2 separate regions of the Homo sapiens genome follow, and region 1 is linked to region 2. Evidence: promoter capture Hi-C in 16 types of primary human blood cells and fetal thymus (Javierre and others, 2016). All regions are on one chromosome and are shown on one strand. Each heading gives the region's core, a stretch centred on a gene start or on the middle of the fragment in contact. The rest is flanking DNA. Distances are from core to core; before and after follow the strand shown. Region 1 has its middle 84 kb from the start of SLC25A26. Region 2 holds the start of MAGI1-AS1 (MAGI1 antisense RNA 1).

Region 1 (2,748 bases), core at 86-2,585, 240 kb after region 2:
CAGACTGGGCAACAAAGTGAGACCTATTCTTTACCAAAAATAAAAAATTAGGTGGGCATGGTGGCATGTACTTGTAATCTCAGCTACTTGGGAGGCTAAAGTGGGAGGATCTCTCTTGAGCCTGGGAGGTTGAGGCTTCAGTGAGCCCTGATGGCACCACTGCACTCCAGCCTGGGTAACAGAGCAAAACCCTGTCTCAATAAAAAAATAAAGTAAAAAGGTAAGTTTTACAGATCCAGTCTTAACATAAGTATAAGGCAAAATTTAAGACTTTGGAATAAATAAAAGAGATATTCTTTTGGAATATTCACATTGGATATTCTTTCAATGAAATACCTGTCTTTAGAGACCACGTAATCCTACAGGGATATACATCTTGGTCTTTGGCTAAGCTATTTTACAAGTCTGTTGAGATAGAAGTTAACTTGAAAAGTGTTTTACTATAGATTTCTGTATTGATCACAACAATTCAGAAATTGATGATAAAACTAATAGTAATGCAAATATTTCTTGTTCATAATCATGCAAGGAAATTCTGTCCTGCGGACAGTCAACTGATTTTCCTCTCTTATTGTGGAAATAAACAGTTTTGTGTCTACTTGCAAATTTATTTCAGTGTTCCCATCTATATATGTATCTGCTGTTGGACTTCTCCTTTGAATGAATGATAACATTTCGGTGGTTCACTCATTAGTAATGAGTTAAATAAAATGTATTCCAGATGTTCATTTTATGTCTATATGATAGTCATGATTTTACCTTTTTGGGAAAATTATCCTTTAACCTAAGATACACAAATGGCCAGTTTATAATTAAAAACTACTTATCACTCTCCATTGGCCTATAGATGAAGACATTGAAGTTTGGAGAAAAACAGGGTGAGCATGTAATAAATAGCTTAGCTGGATTTGAATCCATGTCTATTTCATTTCTAAAATGGTATTCTAACTCATTGCACTGTCTCGTCACTAAGAAATAACATTTTTGTATTTTAAAAGATGGCTTTTAGTTTCATGTTCCAGTTGATGCTTATATTTCCAAAACAATCATGGTAGTGAAATTTGATTTATACATTCTTTCACCTAAGCTCTGGCTTTCAGCCGCTAGGTTTCTCTCTTCTGCTTTGACTGGGATATTTCTCTTGGCTTTGCATCAAGTAGTACTGTGTTTTCAAAGCCTCCATGTCATTTACAGTATGCATTAAATTGTATACAAAGCTTTTCCCTTTCAGGACTTGTTAAGACCTTCTGTTTATTTCAAGAAGAAAGCCTCAGTGAGGTGCTATGTCCCTCTCATACTTGCTAGTCTCCCTTTCATAACAAAGAGAGAGCTTAACAAAGAGAGTTGGAGCTTCCTCAACAATAGTATATAAATTTTTGTTTTTATTTTGCTTACTTTATGGTTATCTCTTATTTATTGAAAATAATTCTGATTTGCATTTATGATAATAGCACAAAGCTTCTTTTAAAATAAAGTTCAGTTAAAAATCAGTTGAGATAAAGGAAATCATTAATTAAATAGCTTGACTAATAGATGTGAGCTCTTTCCTGCCACCTTTTCCACCATGTGAGGATGCCATGAGAAATCACCATCTATGGAACAGACCTTCACCAAACACCAAATCTACCTATGCTGTGATTTTCTTTCTTTTTTTTTTTTTTTTTTTTGAGATGGAGTTTTGCTCTTGTCGCCCGAGCTGGAGTGCAATGGCGCGATCTCAAACTCTGCTCACTGCAACCTCTGCCTCCCAGGTTCAAGCAATTCTTCTGCCTCAGCCTCCCGAGTAGCTGGGATTACAGGGGCCTGCCACCAGGCCTGGGTAATTTCTTGTATTTTTAGTAGAGACAGGGTTTCACCATGTTGGCCAAGATGGTCTCAAACTCCTGACCACAGGGGATCCACCATCCTTGGCCTCCCAAAGTGCTGGGATTACAGGCATGAACAACCACACCCAGCCCCACACTATGATCTTGAACATCCCAACCTGCAGAACTGTGAGAAAAAAAATTCTATAGTTTATGAATTACCTAGTTGGTGGTATTTTGTGAGACCAGCAGGAATGGCCTAAGACACTCATAGAGTCATTGTGAGAAGGGAATAAGATGCTCTGTGTGACTGTGAGCTTCCTGAGGTCAGAGTGTGTCTAACTCATCTTGTTATCCCCCAACTCCTAATACAGTTCCTAGCACCTAGGACTCCATAAGAGCTTGTTTTCTTCTTTCCTTTGCAAAGCTAGTTAGTATAGTCACATGAACATTTTCTTTTTTCTTTTTTTTGTTTTTTGAGACAGTGTCGCTCTGTCACCCAGGCTGGAGTGCAGTAGCCCAATCTTGGCTCTCTGCCACCTCTGCCTCCCAGGTTCAAGCGATTCTCCCACCTCAGCCTCCAGAGCAGCTGGGATTACAGGCGTGCATTACCACACCCAGCTAATTTTTGTATTTTTAGTAGAGACGGGGTTTCACTATGTTGGCCAGGTTGGTCTCGAACTCCTGACCTCAAGTGATCCACCCGCCTCAGCCTCCCAAAGTGCTGGGATTACAGGCATGAGCCACCATGATCGGCCCACATGAACATTTTCTATGGCATTATTAAACAGAGAGTATTGCATGTGAACACGTAAAATAAACATGGGCATTTATAATGTTTTATTTTTCCTATGGTGATCAAAGCTGTTCAATGTATACATCGTATACAATGTATACATCTGAAGTATGGAAATATGCAATGAAGGAAGAAAAAAATCATCCC
Region 2 (2,755 bases), core at 242-2,741:
TGATCGTCTATATTTCAGAGAGGAAAGAAAAAGAGAAAACTTTGCATAACTTTTTGATGGACATAAAATAATAGCAGAATCAGATTTTGTTTAAGATAATAATAGCAGAATCAGATTTTATTAAGTGGCATACCAACATTTTATTAAGTGGCATACAAGGCATTCTTGTGTTTATTTTTTAGAAATTATCAAAACCTACCAAAGCAAATCTAAAGAACGTATATAAAAGAACTTACCTAAAACATTAAATTAATGTTAAGTATAATTATAACAGCAGCTAACATTTATGTATTAGGTGTTAACTGTTCAACTTTACACATTGTTTTAATGTCTCCCAAATCAGCCTAACAGTAAGACTTACCTGGGGCACTTAATCACAGAATCCCTGGAAATTCTAATTCTGTAGCTCTGGGATGGGTCCCATTATTTTAAAAAATGCATTACAATCATTCTTATGACCAAGCTAGGTTAGGAAACAGATTCTCATGGGCTCTTCTTTAACAATGACAGGAAATAGGAAACACTATTAGACCCATTTGACAACTGAAGAAACTGAGGCTTAGAGAGGTCACAAAGCCACCCAGGGTCAGAGGCAGAAACAAACAGAAATGTGAGCTCAGATTTGTAGCTTTTAGCCTGAAAGTAAAACTGCAATCATTGTTCCTTTCCCCAGGTAACACACCAGAGAAGGACACTAACAACCTCAATTTCAGGGACGATAAAAATTAAGTAACAATCCATTCTTCTCTTATTATCTCTCTCAGAGTATCTAAGAAGGCTACACTGGTAAAAGGCTACAGTGCAGTTTCTGGCACATAAGTTACTGAAAATAAGATTTCTTTCCTATCTCCCATCCTTCATCCCTTCTTCTCTACTGATGTCCTCTAATTGGAGTCATTAGTCCTCTTTCTACCAAGCAAAGCCAAAGGTTCCCAGACATATACAACCTCAGAAAAAAAAATGTGAAATAAATGGCAGATACTAACATCAGATTTACTATTCATTTTTCTTTTTTTTTTTCATTTCATGAAAATTACATTCAAACCGGTTTCTTGCCTGGAGAAAAGCACAAAACAAAATTTACATAACGCCTTTAAAAATCAAAACACAATTAACGTTAAGTTTCTTCATGCATTCTCAAAAATCCAACAATATAGTTTAATAGAAAATAATGACAAGCAACATTTATTGAGCGTATCAAGTATTAAATCACTAATTCTCATCAGAAGTCCAGAGGGAATTACGCGAGTCCCATTTACAATTAAGAAAACAGACACAAAGAAATTACAAATTTTGCCCCAGGTTACACAGTTACTAAGTGGTAAAGACAGTATGCAAAATTAGAAGAAGAACTACTATTTGAATTCATGATTTCTTTATTACAATTATCTACTGCTGCGTAATAAATCATCCCAAAATATAACGGCTTAAACTAACAACAATCATTTTATTATCTTTCACAATTTCTGTGAGTCAGGAATTTGTACAAAGCACAGCTGAAATGCTTGTCTCTGCTTCCTGATGTCTGAATCTTACACTGGGAAGACTGCAGGCAACTCAATGGCCCAGGGCTAGAATCATCTGAAACCTCAGGTGTGTTTCACCTCCCCTGGAACACTTGGATGTGGCCTCACCATTTGGCTCCTTGAGCTCCCCTGCAGCCTCCTAGCTGGTTTCCAAAGTCAAGTGTCCCAAAAGAACCAGGTAGAAGCTATACCACCTTTTATGACCCTATCTTGGAAGTCTCACAGCACTGCTCCACCATAATCACATGGCCACCCCTCCATACAAAAAGAAGGAACGAGACATCACTACCCGCCTCCCTATGGAAAGAATCTCAAAGTTGTAAGAACAGCATAATTTCTGCCACAACCCCTAAATAACAATCAATAATATCATCCCTACCTACTAGTGAGAAAATGGAAGTTCAGAAAGGCTATGTGATTGCCCAAGGTCACACAATAAATAATGGCACTAAGATGCCAACACAGGCCCTTGTGACTCCAAATCCTGTTCAATTTCCATTACATCATATTTATAAAACATTCCATCTAAACTGAGTTGTTCCTTGGTGAAAGCTAGGACACATCCATCTTTTAAAAATAATAATAAAGTGAACCATTCCACCAAAAATATGCTAAAAGGATATCCAAATATAAATTATCAAATTTGGAAAGGCAGCAAATGGAAATCCTAATCTAAAGCATTCTTAGTTTACCAGTGATGTCAAATGTTAGCATTTTCTTTGTTGTTGTAATTGAGGATTCGTGTAAGAAAAGAGAAATACAATACCAAGAGTATTCAGTAAGGATAGTCCTTGAAAAGACTAGCAACCACCTAGGACAGTGGTGCAAACCATCCAATTAAGTCTAAATAGGAGATACCCAGGCAACACAATGAAGCCAATGAGCTACAAACTCCATCTGATGCCAAAACTAAAAGGGGAGTTATCACTCATCACCATCAACTGCTTTTGAAAAGGCCAATCCCAGCTATGAGTGTCTCTTCTGGCATGGGAAATTTCATAACACATCTTTATTGCCGGCTGAGGCCACTTGCCTCATCCAGATTCACTGCCTTATGAAAATGTGCAATATGAATGTTTACCGTTGTCATGGAACCTTCACATGAGTTCAAAATAACACACACCCATCACTGTGGCATTTCCAAACAGGACTGAATGGTTGGAAACGGAGGTGCTAGCTAATGTTATTTATTAAAACAAATAAAAACGTCTCTTTTATTTTAGATATCT

Evidence for each region. Contacts are between HindIII fragments. The CHiCAGO score rates a contact against its expected background, and 5 or more counts as called.
Region 1: a contact is called between a fragment that was not itself captured here and the fragment with the promoter of MAGI1-AS1 in region 2, in 1 of 17 cell types (endothelial precursors). The highest score is 7.5, in endothelial precursors.

The regions. Positions count from the first base shown.
Region 1 is chr3:66,135,571-66,138,318 of GRCh38, forward strand. It overlaps a transcript of SLC25A26 not described here. Among named protein-coding and RNA genes, the nearest start is that of SLC25A26, 84 kb to the right of the region's middle. The HindIII fragment of the contact is 241 bases long and covers 1,216-1,456 here.
Region 2 is chr3:65,892,325-65,895,079 of GRCh38, forward strand. It overlaps MAGI1-AS1 (MAGI1 antisense RNA 1), which reads left to right and starts at 1,492. Exons shown (of 3, transcript NR_046575.1): 1 at 1,492-1,593. All of the region lies in intron 1 of MAGI1 (membrane associated guanylate kinase, WW and PDZ domain containing 1), which reads right to left. All of the region lies in intron 2 of MAGI1-IT1 (MAGI1 intronic transcript 1), which reads right to left. The HindIII fragment of the contact is 9,353 bases long and covers 1-2,755 here.